Linked DNA regions of Homo sapiens: regions 1, 2, 3 and 4 are each linked to region 5. Evidence: promoter capture Hi-C in human tissues and cell types (Jung and others, 2019). All regions are on one chromosome and are shown on one strand. The core of a region is centred on a gene start or on the middle of the fragment in contact, and the rest is flanking DNA. Distances in the headings are between cores, read along the strand shown. Region 1 overlaps RMC1 (regulator of MON1-CCZ1). Region 2 overlaps LAMA3 (laminin subunit alpha 3). Region 3 overlaps NPC1 (NPC intracellular cholesterol transporter 1). Region 4 overlaps LAMA3 (laminin subunit alpha 3). Region 5 holds the start of LAMA3 (laminin subunit alpha 3).

Region 1 (3,883 bases), core at 635-3,134, 160 kb before region 5:
TAAACCGTCATGACTCAGCAGTGTGGGCCACTGACCAGCCACATGAGCAGCATCTGGAGTTTCTTGGAAATGCAAGTTCTCAGGCTACACCCCACAGCTATTGCATAATCTGCACGGATCTGAACTGCTTTTTTTTTTTTGAGACGGAGTTTTGTTCTTATTGCCCAGGCTGGAGTGCAATGGTGAGATCTTGGCTCACCGCAACCTCTGCCTCCTGGGTTCAAGGGATTCTCCTGCCTCAGCCTCCTGAGTAGCTGGGATTACAGGCATGCGCACAGGAAAAAGTTGTATCTAAGTAGAGAAAGTGTTTTCCGCTCATATCCTGGGTCCACATCGAAGAATTCAGTCCTTGTGGATGAACTGTAAACAGCACCCTTCCTCTAAGATGCCGAAGATCATAGTTTGTGGTTTTTTTCTTTCAGGCGGTGGAAGCAGGGCAGAGCCGAAGCAGCCCGCTCCTCAAGAGGCCGGTGCGGACCCAGGCGGTGCTGGACCAGTCAGATGTGTACACCCATGTCCTGTCAGCCTTTGTGGAAAAGAAGGTGGGCTGCAGCTTTCCGCCTCTTCTGGACTGAGAATGCTCAAAACAAGGAAGTTGCTGAAAACGAGGAGACTTCATGTGATTAGAGTCACTTGAAGTGATTAGAATCACTGGAGTTTCCTTGGGTGAGGCCCTAGAGCTGGTAGTTTGGCTTCTAATGCTGAGGCCTAAAGCATAATTGTTGACGGGTGGTTCTGGAGCGATGTGTGCAAAACCAGTGAAAGATGAACACTGGGCCATTTTAAGATGGAAACAAGGTGGGGGTTGGATAGAGAGTTATATGCAGCCTCTTTTGCACCTCGTTGGTATTTGTAAGACCACATTTTTTTCTCCCTAGGAGATGCCTCATAAATTTGTGATAGCCGTGCTGATGGAATACATTCGTTCTCTTAACCAGTTTCAGATTGCAGTACAGGTACCTTCAAATCATCTGGGCCCAAGTTAAAACAGAAGGAATTTAAAAAAAAAACACAGTCACTGTCTTAGAAGATGACTCATATGCTAAGACAGGTCTGCCTCCCTGACTCAGAATGCTGAGTGACTCCTGACATTATTAGTTGGAATGGGAAGTGTAAGGTCAAGTTGGGGTCTTTACCTGCATGACGAAACCACTTCTTGTAATGACAGACTTTTACTGTGTTGGTTAGAATAGCCAGTCCTTGGGGAGCCTCTAGTCTGTTGTAGCTGAATGATTTGGAAGTGTTCTTTCACTTTTTACTTTTGTCCTCAGCATTACCTACATGAACTTGTTATCAAAACCCTTGTCCAGCACAACCTCTTTTATATGCTGCATCAGTTCCTGCAGTACCACGTCCTCAGCGACTCCAAACCTTTGGTATGCATTGCCAGATTTTTACTTCCATTGTGGTTAAAAATGGAAAATTTTAACCGTTATCTTTCCAACTGAAGTGGGTCTAAAAATGTCTTTCAGGCTTGTCTGCTGTTATCCCTAGAGAGTTTCTATCCTCCTGCTCATCAGCTATCTCTGGACATGCTGAAGGTAACTCTGATGTGTGAGGTTTTAGACTATGGAAACTAACTCTGTTCCTGTTGTTTGCACTGACCTGGACTTCTCTCCCTTACTGCTAGCGACTTTCAACAGCAAATGATGAAATAGTAGAAGTTCTCCTTTCCAAACACCAAGTGTTAGCTGCCTTAAGGTTTATCCGGGGCATTGGTGGCCATGACAACATTTCTGCACGAAAATTTTTAGATGCTGCAAAGCAGACTGAAGACAACATGCTTTTCTATACAATATTCCGCTTTTTTGAACAGCGAAACCAGCGTTTGCGAGGGAGCCCCAATTTCACACCAGGTGAGAATGCAATGAAAAGACTTGGGGTAACCATAGCCTCAAAGAGTAGCAGAGGGCACTGGCAGCTGGTGGGCGAGGACCCTGGGTTAGCATTTTTGTAAACAACACAATTTGATAACAGCCCACCTAGCCCTTGGCCCATTATTTGTAGTAGAGTGAATTCAGTATACTGACAGAATCTGAATTATGCTCTGGAACTCACCGAGGAGGTGTGTTTTGAGTCAAGACACATTTAGGACCCAGATCAGGCACAGCCCATCTCTTATAGCAGATCTTGGAATATCTCTTAAAGCCAGGAATAAGACGGCAAATGGTGGCTAAGGGTTTTAAAGGGTCTGGGGCTTATTAAGGTTTCAGTTTTATGAAGTATACATTGGTTGATCATTCTCATTTTTTTTTTGAGACAGAGTCTCGCTCCGTTGCCCAGGCTGGAGTGCAGTGGTGTGATCTCGGTTCACTGCAACCTCCGCTGGGTTCAAGCGATTCTTCTGCCTCAGCCTCCTGAGTAGTTGGGACTACAGGTGCGTGCCACCACACCCGGCTGATTTTTGTATTTTTAGTAGAGATGGGGTTTTACTATATTGTCCAGGCTGGTCTCAAACTCCTGACCTCATGATCCGCCTGCCTCAGCCTCCCAAAGTGCTGGGATTACAGGTTTGAGCCACCGCACCTGGCCCTGGTTGATCATTCTCATCTCCAAATAGTTATACAACCTAAGACATCATCTTTAGGATAGGGAAGGATCAGGGCTGTCTAATGAAACTTCTAGGTCTATTTCTAGCTCAATGTAAGACGGCATTTAGTTACCATAAGGACAGGTTAGATAGAATCTCTTCCATTTAGCTTTTGTATTTGTCTCTCAAAGCAGATAGGGTAACCCCAAAACTTAGGAAAACAATGTATTTTATTAAAGAAAAATAAGTTAAAACCCAGTAGACACACCTACGAGATGCTTTCTTTGTCCCTCATTTCATGCCACATCTAACTGGCAATTAAATCTCTTCCTTTCTAGGGGAACACTGTGAAGAACATGTTGCTTTTTTCAAACAGATTTTTGGAGACCAAGCTCTAATGAGGCCTACAACATTCTGAAATCACTTGCTGTTTTTTTATATAAAAATGTGTACAAAGTTAATTTATTGCATTAATAAAGCTCTTTAAACTATAAAATGTTATAAAGTGTATCTACAACCTCAACTGTCACTAAAAATATGGTATAGAACTTGTGGGATGGCTTACTCCTAAAAGGAGAGACAGACAGTGCATTGATTGGCCTTTACAGAGTGTCAGTGAGCGGATCACATTCACAGCCATCTAGTGTCACCTCCTGCTTGCCAAAGAATGAGGTTTCTTTCCTGAAGAGGCTGGGAGAAGTTTAGTGTCCTGTGGTTGCCTCCAGATCTAGTAATACTGCTTCCCAAGTCAACTGTGCATTCCTGAGTTCACAGGCGCTACGTTCAAAGCTGCTGCCAAACAACCGATGGTTGGCACCATCCGGTGTTCAACTTGGCCTTGCCGATGCAGCACCCGTCCAGTGGTAAACCGACCGACCCTTAGACACAGTTCAGTCAGGATGCCCTGCGAGAGGGCTAGAAATTTAGAAGCCGTTCGCGCTCTGTTCCTTTGTATCGCTCTTCAGTGGCACAACTTTTGGCTTTATTTACTGATGGCCCTATGAGAGAGAGAGACTTTTTCTTATTTCTGCAGGAGAAAGGGAGCTAGTTGGCTGGGCATAGTGGCTCACGCCTGTAATCCCACTTTGGAAGACTGAGGCAGGAGAATTGCTTGAGACCAGCCTGGACAACAGAGTGAGACCACATCTCTCTCCCTCTCTTTTGGAGATGGGCTCTTTGCTTTCTTCCTCAGGCTGCAGTGCAGTGGTATGAACACGACTCACTGCATCCTAAGCCCACCCTTCTGGGCTCAAGCAAGCTTCCTGCCTCAGCCTAACAAGTAGGTGGGACTGCAGACGCACACCACTTCACCTGGCTAATTTTATTTTTGTAGAGATGGAGGCCTCACTATGT
Region 2 (3,668 bases), core at 162-2,661, 140 kb after region 5:
CTTAATTCTTGTAGCAGACACTTAATAAGAGTTTATTGAAGGATGATGAATGAATGAGTGAACTGAATGACTGAGAGTCTTTGGGGATGTACTTTGATATTCCGTTTGATGTTCTCAGTTGTAACTATTGATTCCATTGTTGTTGCTGTTGTTGAAGTTGCTTACTCTACCAGCATTTGCCAGTGACCAGATTCCCCTGTACCCTGGCTTGTGAGGCCAGACACTTCCTGCTTGATGGGGAGCCAAGACCCGTGGCAGTGAGGCAGCCCACACCTGCACACCCTGTCATGGTGGACCTCAGCGGGAGAGAGGTGGGCCAGCCTTTTATTTATTATCAAAGTTATTACTACCTCCCCATCTGTATCTGCTAAAAATACTTGGCCACAGTTGCTTCTCAAATTCAGGGGAACCTGGAAGAATTTCTCAGAGGTGTTTATCAACATTTGCTGAACTATCTGATTTAGGGTGGGGCTGGATGGTACGCTACATGGAGCCATGTTCAGGTTGTTCTTTGAGCACTTTCTAGACATGGCAGGGGATGTGGGCATCTATAGAATCCTTTCTTTTTGGTTATCTGGACTTAGAAGGGGGCATCCTGTTCTACATGATTCAGGGCAAGATTTCTCTTAAAAGACAGATGAGACTCAATCTAGTAAGCGTCCAGAAATGACACAGCTTACCCTAAAAGGATACCACACTCACTGACTGTTCAACCCCTTAGGCTAAGCAATTTGTAGCAGCTGAATTCCTTGAGCTCAGAATCCGGAACTTCTACATCCCCTGGCACCTACCTCATGGCTTGGAGGACAGGTTACTACAGGTCTTGGTATTACTTTTCTTCCAGGAGTTCTTCGAACTTCAGAACCAAATTTAAGATCATACTGATTTCAGATTCGAGTTAGAGCTATAGGATATCAACCATAACAATAAGAATACACAACACTTCAAAATGAAGACACTGAAAGACTTCCTCCACTATATTTTTATTCTTTGCTCTCTGTAACATTCTCTGTTTTGTCCTTTTGAGGAAAATATTCATTTGGGGGATTAAATTTGTGGGATGAAAATATATGTGGAGTTAATTGTAACTGAACTTTTAGATGTGTACATTTTTGTAAACTACATTTCTAACATTTTGAAGGTAGCAGTTAAAGGTTTTTAAGTATATTTCTTAAGTAAAGTCTTCATTTTATTTGAATTTTCATGCTACGAAATAATATTTACTTGTAACAAGTAAAACAATATAGATATGCATAAAAAACCTAAATGATCTTCCCTCTACTTCATTCTAATACTAAGTTTGCTGTATCCCTCCCTACACATGCTATGTGTGTATACACACATACACACATACATGTATATAGGTGTACATACATACATATATACATAAAATGCACATACACGTACATATACAGGTATATGTATGTGTGTGTGTATTTGTGTGTGTGTGTTCCCTAGACAACAAGAGGTACCGTTGAGAAGGGGCAACCACCAGGAAGTGATGCTGATGACTCATCTAGGAGGTTCTAACCTCTGATTTAACCCAGAGCTATAGCACAGAGCTAGTCAGCAGGACCTCAAGGCTCTTTTACAATACGGAAATATTTTATTTCACTATCTCTGGTCTAGAAATTATCCAGCTTATTGATTCAGTTTAATTTATACTTTTAAAACTTTTCAATTGGCTCTTTATCATATTTATTTTTTCTTGTCTTTTCTGCCAGTTTTTGTTTCAAAACTTCATGTACTTTTAAGTGGAAGTTACTTCTTCATTTAGCTTTTTTAGTATCCTAAAGGCCTTGGAGCCAGGTGTATTTCAGAATTCAAAATTTTTAAGATTTGAAAAAAGATAACATCTCCAGTGAGGTCTGGGATAATACCCTATAATCAAACAGGTTAATATTTCTCCAGTGAAAAGCATGAATAGGCACACCTAGGGAGACACTAACTGACTATATACATAGACTTATATCAGTTTAGTTCAGACTTTGCCAGCAAATGATTATTGGTTAGGTTAGGTTTGCCACCAAAACAGTTACAAAACCTATTTCCTTTTCAGAGTTTGGGGATTTCAGATCATGGGCCAGTATATTTAAAGTCTTTCTCAGACTATTCCATAAAATTCACCTCATCTGAAGTGAACTCATCTCTGATTATTTTGTTACCTGTCTTTCTTAATATTCAATTTATGTGTTTTGAATTTTGTTTACAGGCATATTGGCTTATTTTGAATGAGAGGTTTTTATCCTCTCCTTCTTTCGCATCTGTTTCAGCCTGCTAATTTTGCATTGTCTTAGCTGTCCACTGGATCCTTAGCCCAGGAGCAGGCATTACAGTGTGCCTTCTCTATTGTTATGACACTGAAGATAGGAGATTCAGACATTGACCCCATGAATGGCATAGCTCAGTTCTTGGTCATGAGGCCACATATTTGATTTTTGGTTCCCAAATTCCATAGCTTCTTTTAAAAATTTATTTAGTTTTATATATTTAGGGGTACAAGTACAAGTTTCTTATATGCATATATAACATAGTGGTGAAGTCTGGGCTTCTAGTGTACCCATCACCCAAATAGTGAACATTGTACCTAATAGGTACTTTTTCAACACCCCCTCCCATCCCTCCACTTTTCATAGTCTCCAGTGTCTGTTATTACACTCTGTATGTCCATATGTACCCATTGCTTAGCTACCATTTATAAGTGAGAACATGCAGTATTTGACCTTCACACAGCTTCTTATAAATCCATAACCCAGGAGGCAGATTGGAAGCAATTTTTAGCTTCTTTTTAAATTTGAACATCCTTGTCTTCAAAAAATGTGCCTCGATCTGGCCGCTGTCTCCTATGGCACATGTTTTATTCTCTTAACTCTGCATGAGCTAAACTGCTGACCAAAATAATCTGCTTCCAGACCTAGAGGACAACAGGCTTGTGACTTCAGTCCTGGTGCCATTTTGGGTTTTTCTTTAACTTATGTTTTATCACCTATTACTTTTGATTCTAAATATATCTTTTTGTTGTTCTTTTAAAACGTTTTATCCAGAGTTGGTCTCTCTTGGAGCAGGAGTATAGTGAATGTGAATTCTCTGTGCCATCTGAACCAGAAGTCACCCATCTTTAAAAAATGCTAACCTGTTTTTATTAAAATCCTCCTCTCTCTCCCTCAGCTCAGCCACTACACCATACTCCTCCCCTTCACAACAAAACTCCTCCAAAATATTGTCTACACTCTGTGTTTCTAATTCTTTATGCCCTACTCACACCTCAACCCACTTCAGTCTGGCTTTCACCTCCCACTCCATTAAATTTATTTTGCCAGGTTTCCGATGAGATCTTTGTCACTAAATCCAGTGGATATGTTTCAGTCCTCATCGGTTTAACTTCTCGGCAGCTTTCGATGCCTGATGGACACTCCCTGAATTCTCAAACTCTCTCTTGTTTTTCATAATTTAAGAGCTGTCTTAATAATTTAAAAATTAACGACAACCTGATTCTCTTTCTGCCTCTCTCACCGCTTCCTCAAAATATCATTTGCAGGCTCATCCTCCTCTGTCTAGCCATTAAGTGTTAGAATTTGTCAATGCTCAGTCCTAGGCCTTATTACTCTATGTTCTGTCTCGAGGAGTCTGATCCATGGCAATTGTATCAGACCCACCTCCACACAGAT
Region 3 (3,993 bases), core at 1,267-3,766, 130 kb before region 5:
AGTCACTGGGTAGAGAAAAGATTCAAGTCTTGGGACCATTTTAATGCTTTTCAAGATTGCAGACTTTCTTGTAGACATGAGCAATGTTTAAAGGAAAAACCATGTGATTATACATTCATTAAAAAAGAAGCCGGTACAGTTTATGCACAGGTACAGTTCTCCAAGGCAAGTGTGACAGGGACAATGGGAAGGTTTACATGCCTTTCTAGGAGCAATGGGATGGATCTTGCCCCAAATGCGCCTCTCACCAAAAACAGGCTGGGTGCCCATGTTCAGGCAGTGAGTGATAAGTTCATTCCTACAGGTTGGATCAGGGATGGTAATCTGGCAGCTCCTTCCTCAGCCCCCAGGACAGCAGTAAGGGCTTCATGCCTCTGGGTCCTTGCATATTACTTTCAGTTACCAACAGAAAACATTTCACAAATTCCTAAGGTGACTTCCTAATAAATATATCCTGCCTCAATAGAGAAACGCCACTGAAGTCTTCTTTCTCTGCTCATCTCAATTTCAAGAAAAAGGCAAGGTCTACTATCTGAAGTAAATACAAAAGTGAGCAACAATAAATATTCCATTAAGTTCAACATCATTCACTTTCTTGAAACCTAACTTAAAGGCAGCTTTGCCATTATACGCTAAGATTTTCAAGATATACCATGACATTCAGCCCCAAATCCCCATCTAGCAGTAGTCAACATGTAAAAGCCAGCAAACCACAAGGTCATCTAGAGTGACTTATTTCTTCAAACAGCAGGTTACCTGGTGCAGTATCTGTATGTCAAGCGGAGGTCCAAAGGGTACATCAGCTCCCGAAGGGTATGGCTGGTAAATGTGTTTGTCAGTGAGAGGGGCCCGGATGATGAGCTGCTCCGTCCGGAAGAAAGGCCCAAAGTGCTGGTCAAAGTACTCTTTTTCCAGGCGAGCCTGGCTGCTGGGGGCTGACCAGAGGTCAACTGGATTGGTTGTGACCCGGACAAACACCAGGCCTGACGAACACGCAGTAATGAAGACCAGCGAGAAGAAAATGACACAGCCAGGGTTTCGGACGCAGAAAGACCCCCAGCGTGTGAACAGCCGCCTCAAGCAGCCCTCAAATGCTGCGCTGACAGGGTCACAGCAGGACGCCTCTCCTGGAAGAACGGGAGAGGAAGGGAAGGTGGAGGTTAAGAGCCAAGCCGTTCCTGAAAGTCGGAACAGGGAAAGCATTAGTTGCTATCTCATGGCAGGAATCAAGCCCACCTGGGGACACATATGAGACCCCTGCCCTCAGCTACCTATCTGCTCAGCAAAGCCACCTTTGTTGGCTGCCCTCAATGAGCGCTATTCCCACCCCACAGAGGAGATGCCGACACAGGAGCCTCTGAAGGGTGAGGTTCAACCCTGCCCTGCTATTCCCACTCTTGTCCTGCTGCTTTCGCGCCTCCCCAGCTATGATTAATTACTTGGTTCTGCTGTGCCACCCTGACTAGATGGTAGGGCCACAAAGGCAAGGACCATGTCTGCCTTGGTCGCAGCCGTGTCCTCGGCACTGGCACACCACCTCACCCACTGCTGCAACCCCACTGAGGAAACGAATGCTCTCATGACAGACAGCATCATCTGAACCCTTTTATTCATGGACAAATATGCCTACCTTTGTCACTTGCATTAACAGAAAAAGCTATATTGCTATCGATGGGAGTGTACTCGGAGACAAAATACCGTTTTCTGAAAAACAGAAGTGAAGAAATAGCATTAGTGGACTTCATCACAGTGAGGTTGTTTTTGGGACATTCCTGTAATCCCATGAAATGCTTTCTTCCTCCTCCTGGCCTCCTCCTCCCTAATTACTGCCTTCTTTCCCCTAAGTCCCCTTGCTCTGGGTCCCTCTGCTCACCAGTCTCAGGAGAAAATTTAAGAAGATGTTAAGAGAACAATTAATAAAGGATAATTTCACCTTGTGGCCCTCATTTTATTTAAAACTTTTAGGTCCTTTAAAAACACACTACTGGGCTAGGCGCGGTGGCTCACGCCTGTAAACCCAGCACTTTGGGAGGCCAAGGTGGGCGGGATCACGAGGTCAAGAGATCGAGACCAACCTGGCCAACATGGTGAAACCCTGTCTCTACTAAAAATACAAAAAGGTTAGCTGGGTGTGGTGGCACGTGCCTTGGGAGGCTGAGGCAGGAGAACTGCTTGAACCAGGGAGGCGGTGGTTGCAGTGAGCTGAGATCGCGCCACTGCATTCCAGCCTGGTGACAGAGCAAGACTCCATCTCAAAAAAACAAACAAACAAACAAAAACATGCTACTCTTTCCAGCAGCAATGAGCATACCTAGTGCCCAGATCTTCGTTTCTACATACCATTCTCCAATAAAAGGAACCAGAGCTCCTTGCAGGGCAGGGACAGGGAATATGTAAGATAAAGCTGGGGATGGGAGGTGTATGTAAGAACACAGAAGCCAGCCAGAAGGCACTCCCAATGGCCCAAAGTGGAAAACTTTGAGTAACAAGATAAATGACAGTGTTGGATACAACCCACAGAATTAAAAGTCCATGATGTAAATAACTGAGTAAATAAATGAGGGAGAAGGGATAGCTTTCTGTACAGAAGTCCAGTTAGTAAATGCAGAGGAAGAGAGGGAAAGAGAAAAAAATCACTATCAGGCAAACACCTTAGTTATAACTGTTGCAGACAAGACCCAACAATGAATGCTAAAATCAGTGGTTGAGTTTCAGGAGGAACAAAATATTAGTATAGTCTCAAAGCATCTTCCCCCAAGATATTTATCAATTACGAAGGGAAAAGCAGTAACTTCACAGTGGAGATAGCCAGCAGACATCACCTTGAGCAAGTGATCAAGGTTAACATCACCAGGAAAGAGACGCATCAACATCAGGGATCCCTGACATGATGCACCGAGAAAGACATAACATGACTTCTGTGATGTACTTGTCAAAACACCTTATTTCAATCTCATCATGAGAAAATACCAGATAAAGCCAAATGGAAGGACATGCTACAAAATACCTGACCAGTATCATCAAGAGTGTTAAGGCCAGAAAAGGAAAGACTGAGGAACTTTCTGTCACAGATTAGAGGGGACTCATAAAACACAAAAATGTAATATGGGACCTTGAAACAGGGAAGGGCATTAGAGAAAAAGCTGGTGAAATCTGATTAAGATCTCTGGTTTAGCTAATAATAATGTAATAATAATGGCATGGTCGTGGTTTTGATCATTGTACTATGAGTTTTTTTTTTAATTATTATTATACTTTAAGTTTTAGGGTGCATGTGCACAACGTGCAGGTTTGTTACGTATGTGTACGTGTGCCATGTTGATGTGTTGTACCCATTAACTCGTCATTTAGCATTAGGTATATCTCCTAATGCTATCCCTCCCCCAGGCCCCCACCCCACAACAGTCCCCGGTGTGTGACGTTCCCCTTCCTGTGTCCATGTGTTCTCATTGTTCAATTCCCACCTATGAGTGAGAACATGCGGTGTTTGGTTTTTTGTCCTTGCGATATTTTGCTGAGAATGATGGTTTCCAGTTTCATCCAAGTCCCTACAAAGGACATGAACTCATCATTTTTTATGGCTGCAGAGTATTCCATGGTGTGTATGTGCCACATTTTCTTAATCCAGTCTATCGTTGTTGGACATTTAGGTTGGTTCCAAGTCTTTGCTATTGTGAATAGTGCCGCTATAAACATACGTGTGCATGTGTCTTTATAGCAGCATGATTTATAATCCTTTGGGTATATACCCAGTAATGGGATGGCTGGGTCAAATGGTATTTCTAGTTCTAGATGTACTATGAGTTATGTAAGTTGTATCATCGGGGAAACTGGGTTAAGGATACACATAAATTCTACCATTTTGCAACTTTTTGGTTAAGTCTACAATTATTTCAAAATAAAAAGTAAAAAAAGTACTGTCCTAAATTAAGATGCAAATATCTAAAAGGACTATAGTACTCCATTTAATTAGATTTGAATCTGATTTCGCTC
Region 4 (4,036 bases), core at 97-2,596, 200 kb after region 5:
TGAAAATCAAGAAGATACTGAGAACATCTCACTAGTACATAGACTCAGAAACAAGTGTGGATCACAAAGGCAGGCCTATATCAGCCCTTAACAGACACATGGGCCAAGTCCTAACATCACCAGAAGTCATGTGCCAAGTGTGGCTTCTCTGGAGAGACCTATTTGGAATGCTCACCCTGCTTTGCTGTCTATGTCTTTGATGCTCGTGAAGCCCGCCCCATCCTGCAGCTTTATTTGTCAAGGGATCAATCACATGAGCTTGCCCAGACTTGTTTGAAGAGAAGCTGGCAAAAGTAGAAAGCAGCGAGATTTCCACTGGGGTGCTTGGAAAAAGTTTTTCATTTTCATTTGCAAAGCGTAGTAGCATCAAGGTCAGCTTCCAGCTTCCATAAGTTGAAGTAACACGTAGGTCTTTGAATTTATCAGTAAAACTCTATTTGTATCTATTTCTCCTTCCTGCAATATTAATAGTGCTGACCAATGTCTAACTGTCTTTTGAGAGGCTTCCTAAACAGGCATTCTCTTACCAGCAAATGGAGTGATATTCCCTCAGATGTCATCAGTGTCATGTCCAGTGGCAGACAACAGGGCTTTTTCATGGTCTCTTTGGTGTGTGTGTGTGTGTGTGTGTGTGTGTGTGTGTGTGTGTGTGTGTGTGTGTTTAAAGCTGCTTCTAAAATATCATCACTTATTGCTTCTCAGCCTTTTGGCTAAAATCAAGTGTAAAATATCACCACTTTAGAGCTAAAAGAAAAGGGATCAAAATTCCACAACTTGGTTTGAAAAAAAAGTGAGAATCAGCAATGATTGTGCCCACAGAAATGCCGAGGCAGGCGAGTGGTCTCTGTGCATCTTTAGGGGGCTCCAGGGCCTGGCCTCCCCACCAACTTTTCTTCCCAGAAGGCAATGTGCCTGATAGAAAAGAACTAGAATCAACAAGGAGAACGTTTTTTTTTAAAGAATCAGAACTCTCTGTTCTTTTTTCTGCCTAGACTTGTTTTACTCCTTCCTTGTTATTCCTGGAAAAATGCTGTTGTAATCATCTCTTCCAAAGTGAGTTACTCTGCTCTGTCTTAAGGGGAAAAAATGCTCTTCCCCAAGGAACAAATAAAATAAATGCCTTCAGTCCTTGTTCACCAAAATTGCCCTGTGTCGGCTGAGATCATTCATCATTATCTCTCCAAGTCTTGATGGGCAAAATTTTCTTCACACAAAGTAACCAGACCCTGGGTTTCAGTGCTCACTTAATACAAGCCAGTCCTTTGTGGTAAAAAATAAGCATAAATCCTATCGATCTGTGTTTTTGATGGGGCCTTTTTCTGTCTTCTTTCAAGCTTTGCCACTGGCTGTGTGGTGAATGGGGGAGACGTGCGGTGCTCCTGCAAAGCTGGGTACACAGGAACACAGTGTGAAAGGTAAGGTGGGCGCCCCTCCCGCCTCAGCCTGCAGAGGGGGCGGGGAGGGCTGTGGGTGGGGCTGCCAGGTGCTGGCACAGAGCTAGGGGTGGGGCTGGGAGTTTGACTGAGGCCTGGAAAAAGGTCTCTTGGGAAAAATACAAGACTGCTCACCTAATAAATCATTAATATCATTCTCTTTCCTGCTTTGTACGTTTCAGAAAACTGAGAATGAGGCACAACGCATACACTCACCCACAAGTAGCTCTACCTACATCCCCCCAACACGCACCCCTGTGTACCTCAACCCCCGACACCTCCCTACCTACCCCTCCTCCACAATGATCTCTGCATACCCCCTATTTCGACATGTCCCTTCCACATATCTCCACATACACCTGCCCTCAACGTATCCCTACTTACCTGTACACATGTACAACTGTCTACACTCTTCCGTACACACACATATCCACAGCCCTAGCCTAGATAGCCCCCCCACCCCCCCACCCCCACCCCCACCCCACACACACCCCTCTATCCCCACACTATATTTTGAACACTTTCAGGACAATCTATGTCTTGTTTATTTCGGAATCCCTGGTTCCAAGAATGGTACTGTTCACATAATAGGTGTTCGGTAATGTTTGTGAAACAAAATAATAAATGTTGTGGAATGGAAACTGTAAAATTAATGACAAAGGGCTGCAGAACCAAGCTTTAGTTATTCATGGACAATTTTCATGATTAGCCACTATGCATAGGACACTGCCAAGTACTGAGAAAGATATAAAAGATACTTATAACCTAGCTGAGAAGAAAGCACACACATATTTGGGAAAGTAACAGTATGAAAAATGAATCATATGGTTTACATATTTTAAAATTTAAAATAACTTTCTCATAAAATCAATACATATTTATTATAAAATGATGAAAAACAAACGAGCAGAGAACCAGTGAGGGCCCCCCTACAACCTAGCCCTGTGCACTCAAACGCTTTCACATACAATCCTATTCATAATCATTTTGTCTACAGAAAGCCACTGTTAAAAAGCTGGCTGTTTGTTCCTACAAATCATTTCTAAATGTGTGAACCCTTAAAAAAAAAAGTAGATTCCTGTTTTACTTTCTGTTTTGACTTGTTTTCTTATCTAATACTATGTTAGTAATATCTCTCCATATCAGTAAGTATTCACTGATAACATCACATCAATGACCAAAAATTTCCACTGGGTTTCCATTATCTCCTACTCTTGGTCTTGGAGATCCTTTTACTGTTCTGCATTTAAAGCAACACTAAAATTAAATCCTTGCAGCTTAATATTTGTGTATGCATATCCTCAAGGTATAATTGTAAAAGTGGATTCTTTGGGTCAGAGGATAGGTTTTCCAGGCTTTTAATACTTTTTGCAAAATTGCCCTCCAGAAAAGTTTATATTCTTACAGCAGCAAAAGAGAATGAGTGACTACCTACCACAATGGATATTGGAAAGGATCAATATTTTAAATATTTGCTAATTAGGGCCAAGCATGGTGGCTCAAACTTGTAATCCCAGCACTTTGGGAGGCCAAGTTGGGAGGATTATTTCATGTGATCCAGAGGTTAGAGACCAACCTGGGCAGCATAGAGAGACCTCATCTCCATAATTTTTTTTTTTAATTAGCCAAGTGTGGTGGTGTGTGCCTGTGGTCCCAGCTACTTGGGATGCTGAGGTAGGAGAACCATATGAACCCAGGAGTTCGAGGCTGCAGTGAGCTATGATCGCACTACTGCATTCCAGCCTGGGCAACAGAAAAAAAAAAGCCAATTTGATAGAGAAAAATTGTGTATCATTTTAATTTACATTGTTTTGTTTAAACTTTAAAAGAGTTTGACTAATTTTTGTTTAACCGGAAAATGAATTCAACCAGATTTCAAGTAAGGCATAACCACCCTAGACTGGGGTTATCTGAAATGTTTATGGATAAGGTGGGACTTTGGTAGGTCCAAGGGGTTACTAGAACCCAGTGGAGCCAGAAGATGGAAGTGGGAGGCAGGTTAGGTTGGGGAAGCAAGGCAGAAAAGCCCAAGGGGCTGGAAGACACTTGCCATGTGTAGGAGGTGGGGACTGCCTTAGACTGGGGACACTGAGCAGCAGCTAAGGAGCCCAATTCTATGGCAAAAGATGGTAATGGAAGGTTCTTCTGTTTTCCATTTTCCATTTCAGCAAAAGGAGCATTTCTCACACTTGCCTTACACTTATTCAGTTATTCTTTCAATGAAAAATGTATGGAGGTCCTAGTATATATATGTCTGGCACAGTGCTAAGTACTGGAGGCACATTAACAAACAGCACAGACAGTGTCCTCAAGGGCTTTCCAGTCCAGTGGTGGACAGACATCAAAACATGCCATTAAAATAGCGAGAGATGGGAGAACTGGGCTAAGTTGAGCTGCAATTAGGAGGTATATCCAACCAGCGAGAAGGGAAGGATGTGGGGAGTGGGAAAGGATTCTAGGCTCTGAGGTTTAAAAGCCACAGGGGACCAACACCTGGGAGAGGCGTCCTAATTTCATCCTCTTTATGGCTCTTCACAAACAATGAAGCATTAAACAGCAACAGGCTCGGTGAGACATCCATTTGGCAGGCAAAATTTTTAATT
Region 5 (3,917 bases), core at 1,396-3,895:
AACTTCATTTCTTTTTATGTGTGACAGATATTCCATTGTATGGATATACTACATTTTGTCTATCCATTCATCAGTTGGGGAACATTAGGTTGTATTCATTTTTTTATTATATGACTAACGCTGCTATAAACATTTATGTACAAGTTTTTGTGTGGATATATATTTTCAGTTCTCTTGAGTATGTTCTTAGGATTGGAATTGCCAGATCACATGGTCATGTTATGTTTAAGTTTTTGAGGAATTGCCAAAGTGTCTGCACCATTTTACATTCCCATCAGTAATCTGTGAGGGTTCCAACTTCTCCACATCCTCACAAATACTTGTTATTATCTATCTTTTTGATTATAACTATCCCAGTGTGTGTGAAGTAGTATCTCATTGTGGTTTTGGTTTGCATTTTCCTGATGGCTAATGATGTTGAGCGTCTTCCATGGTCATGCTTATCGACCATTTTTATATTTGCCCACTACTTTTTAAAAAATGGTTGAGTTGTAAGAGTTTATTCTGGATATGAATTTCTAATTAGATATATGGTTTGCAAATATTTTCTTCTATCTTGCGGATTGTCTTCTACTTTCTTTTTTTTTTTTTTTTTGAGATGGATTCTCAGTTTCCCAGGCTAGAGTGCAGTGGCACAATCTCAGCTCACTGCAACTTCTGCCTCCTGGGTTCAAGTGATTCTCCTGCCTCGGCCTCCCTAGTAGCTGGGATTTCAGGTGTGCACCACCATGCCCAGCTAATTTTTGTATTTTTAGTAGAAAATTTCATCATGTTGGCCAGGCTGGTCTTGAACTCCTAACCTCAGGCGATCAACCCATCTTGGCCTCCCAAAGTGCTGGGATTACAGGCATGAGCCACTGTGCCTGGCCATCTTTCGCTTTCTTGAGGGTGCCTTGGAAGCACAAAAGTTTTAAAATTTGGTAAGTTTCAATTTATCTTTGTGTGTGTGTGTGTGTGTGTTTTGAGACAGATTTTTGCTCTGTTGCCCAGGTTGGAGTGTAGTGCCATGATCTTGGCTCACTGCAACCTCCGCTTCCCGGGTTCAAGTGATTCTCCTGCCTTGGCCTCTGGAGTAGCTGGGATTACAGGCACATGCCACCATGCCTGGCTAAGTTTTGTATTTTTAGTAGATACAGGGTTTCACCATTTTCCCCAGGCTAGTCTTGAACTCCTGACCTCAGGTGATCCACCCACCTCGGCCTCCCAAAGTACTAGGATTACAGGCATGAGCCACCGTGCCCGGCCCAATTTATATTTTTCTTTTGTTGCTTGCGCTTTTGATATCATAGCTAAGACAGCATTGCTAATCCAAAGTCATGAAGATTTTCTCCTGTGTTTTTCCCTTAGAATTTTATAGTTTTAGCTTTATAGTTTAGCTCTCTAAATGTAAAATTTAGAGATCTTAAATCCATTTTGAGTTAATTTTTGCATATAGTATGAGGTGGGGATCCTACTAGATTATTTTGGGATGTCCAGTTTTCCCAGCAGCGTTTATTAAAAATATTATTCTTTTCCCATTGAATAGTCTTGGCACCCTGTTGAAAATCCAGTGACCATAAATGTAACGGTTTATTTCTGAGCTCTCAATTCTATTCCATTGATCTATGTTTATCGTTATGTCGGTACTACACTGTCTTGATTACTGTAGTTTTGTATTAAGTTTTAAAACTAGGAAGCGTGAGTCCACTGACTTCATTCTTTCTCAGAATCGTTTTGGATTTTCTAGGTCTCTTGCATTTCCACATGAATTTTAGGATCAGCTTGTCAATTTCTGAAAAAAAAAAAAGTCGGGATTTTGATCCCTATCAAAATCCATTGTGTTGAATTGTAGGTTGCTTTAGGAAATATTGCCATCTTCACAATATTGTCTCCTAATCCATGAACATGGGAGGCTTTTCCACTCATTTAGGTCTTTTAACATTTCTTTCAAAGAGGTTTTGCAATTTTTATTGTACAAATATTGCATTCCTCTAATTTCTTCGAGGGCCTATGTGGGTTCTGTTTTAGTAGGGTGTTCTGCATATAAGACCAAGCATCAGTCCGGGGTCGTGGGGGGAGGGGGTCTTCTCTGTTCTGAGGCCATCATGGCAGGTGGCGTACCTCACTCAATCTCTGTTAGCTTATTTGTAAAATTGAGCAGATTAGGCATCTAAAGGATTTCCTCTAAGGTTCCTTTCCAGGTTGGCAAATTACAACTTGCATTATTGGCTGTCTTTTAAATATGTACGTTCCACCACTCCCAGTTCCCTGGCTCAGCCTGTGGCTGCAGTGCCACAGGGATCCTAGGTGCACAGTGTTGAGGAGTTGACGACTCAACACTTGGCTGGGAAATCGAAATGTCTTTGATGTGAGTTCTGTAGGTAGTGGCAGTTTCCTCTGCTCTCAACCAAATTCGTTTACAAGCCTCCTTTACTCTTAGGTCACAGGTGGCTTTTCTGGCTTTGACCTGAGCGGTGAGTATCCAGAGAGGAGAACGATCTAATTAATTTCTGTCCTGGCGCCTGGAGGGTTCGAAGATCCCAGGCTCCCGTTCCCGCCGCCTGGGTGGGAGCCCGGGAACGCCTCTCCCATTCCCCGCCCGCGAAGTTTGCAGCGCGCCTCGCGCGGGAGAGACGCCGTCTGCTGGCGCGCGGCTGAGCGCTGTCAGTTCCTGATCCGGCTGGTGCCCGCTCCAGCCGCGGCAGGTTCCAGAGCTGAGAGGCCACCCCCACGCCGCGGGCTTCCAGCGCGTGGAGCAAGGGGAGCGGCCCCGGCGCCGCCCATATCCCCGGCTGCGCTAGTCCTGGCGCTGCAGGTCCGGGAGGCGCAGGCGGAGAGCGGCGGTGCCCCCGAGCCCCTCTGCGGACGGCTCAGGCGGGAGGACCCCGCGCGGCTGGATGGCGGCGGCCGCGCGGCCTCGGGGTCGGGCACTGGGGCCAGTACTGCCGCCGACGCCGCTGCTCCTGCTGGTACTGCGGGTGCTGCCAGCCTGCGGGGCGACCGCTCGGGATCCCGGGGCCGCGGCCGGGCTCAGCCTTCACCCGACTTACTTCAACCTGGCCGAGGCGGCGAGGATTTGGGCCACCGCCACCTGCGGGGAGAGGGGACCCGGCGAGGGGAGGCCCCAGCCCGAGCTCTACTGCAAGTTGGTCGGGGGCCCCACCGCCCCAGGCAGCGGCCACACCATCCAGGTGAGGGCCTCGGAGAGAGCCGGGGTGGGCGCGCCTTTTCCTTCCCGCGCCGGCCAGACACCCGGAGAAGGGATCGGGCCCTTTCCTCACGCGCGCTAGTGGCTCCGGGCGACTGGGAAGGGCAGCCCCCATCCCCGCGCGCGAGGGCCCACGACCCAGGAGCGATCTCGTGGAAGCACCGCACCGGCACCACCGGCCCGAGGCGAGGAGGGGGAGCACGCGAGGTGACATGAGGCTGTGGTCAGGTTCGGGCTGGTGGAGGGGAAAGTGTGAGGCTGCGCTCTAAGAGATGCAGGCGCCTCGGCCCTTCCCGCCTCCGTCACCCACGGAGCGTCCCGCCAGGCTTGAGTCCTCGAGGGTTCAGGGGCGCCTCCTGCCCCACCTCCCGGGCCTTATTCGGAGAAGTCGGTGGCAATTACCTTCTGTGGTGTATTTTAAGAGAGAATTTTTAGGTTATAACAGCGGTATCACTCTAATGTTACTGAAAAGATTCACTTCACTGCACTGCCTGAAGTGCCACCATCCAGTCATTGGGGGCGAATGAGACCTTAGGCGGACAGAGATAGAAAGGCTCTCAGAGATCCGAGCCTCACCGCGAACACCCGGGGCAAACGACATTGCGGTGCATGTTAAGCAGCATCTTGCAGTGCCTGGCCCTTACTCACAGGTCTCAGCCAGGCAAGAGTGCAGTGGTGCGATCACGGCTCACGGCAGCCTCGAACTCCTGGGCTCAAGGGATCCTCCCGC

Evidence for each region. Contacts are between HindIII fragments. The study calls those that stand out against the background at their distance.
Region 1: a contact is called between a fragment that was not itself captured here and the fragment with the promoter of LAMA3 in region 5, in 1 of the 25 tissues and cell types used here (IMR-90 fibroblasts).
Region 2: a contact is called between a fragment that was not itself captured here and the fragment with the promoter of LAMA3 in region 5, in 3 of the 25 tissues and cell types used here (bladder, lymphoblastoid cells and mesendoderm cells).
Region 3: a fragment that was not itself captured here is called in contact with the fragment with the promoter of LAMA3 in region 5 in 2 of the 25 tissues and cell types used here (adrenal gland and mesenchymal stem cells).
Region 4: a fragment that was not itself captured here is called in contact with the fragment with the promoter of LAMA3 in region 5 in 2 of the 25 tissues and cell types used here (IMR-90 fibroblasts and mesendoderm cells).

What each region holds. Positions count from the first base shown.
Region 1 is chr18:23,528,757-23,532,639 of GRCh38, forward strand. It overlaps RMC1 (regulator of MON1-CCZ1), which reads left to right. Exons shown (of 20, transcript NM_013326.5): 15 at 423-542; 16 at 879-956; 17 at 1,272-1,376; 18 at 1,473-1,541; 19 at 1,631-1,856; 20 at 2,869-3,066. The coding sequence ends at 2,948. NPC1 (NPC intracellular cholesterol transporter 1) reads right to left here. Exons shown (of 25, transcript NM_000271.5): 25 at 2,686-3,528. The coding sequence ends at 3,446. Among named protein-coding and RNA genes, the nearest start is that of RMC1, 27 kb to the left of the region's middle. RefSeq lists an enhancer at 312-1,511. The HindIII fragment of the contact is 5,595 bases long and covers 1-3,883 here.
Region 2 is chr18:23,827,157-23,830,824 of GRCh38, forward strand. LAMA3 (laminin subunit alpha 3) reads left to right here. Exons shown (of 75, transcript NM_198129.4): 23 at 158-311. Among named protein-coding and RNA genes, the nearest start is that of LAMA3, 140 kb to the left of the region's middle. The HindIII fragment of the contact is 6,884 bases long and covers 1-3,668 here.
Region 3 is chr18:23,555,487-23,559,479 of GRCh38, forward strand. It overlaps NPC1 (NPC intracellular cholesterol transporter 1), which reads right to left. Exons shown (of 25, transcript NM_000271.5): 7 at 1,631-1,704; 8 at 757-1,127. Among named protein-coding and RNA genes, the nearest start is that of NPC1, 29 kb to the right of the region's middle. The HindIII fragment of the contact is 8,970 bases long and covers 1-3,993 here.
Region 4 is chr18:23,883,439-23,887,474 of GRCh38, forward strand. LAMA3 (laminin subunit alpha 3) reads left to right here. Exons shown (of 75, transcript NM_198129.4): 41 at 1,335-1,415. Among named protein-coding and RNA genes, the nearest start is that of LINC02958, 97 kb to the right of the region's middle. The HindIII fragment of the contact is 3,535 bases long and covers 1-3,114 here.
Region 5 is chr18:23,686,808-23,690,724 of GRCh38, forward strand. It overlaps LAMA3 (laminin subunit alpha 3), which reads left to right and starts at 2,646. Exons shown (of 75, transcript NM_198129.4): 1 at 2,646-3,170. The coding sequence starts at 2,877. RefSeq lists an enhancer at 2,005-2,554. The HindIII fragment of the contact is 10,376 bases long and covers 1-3,917 here.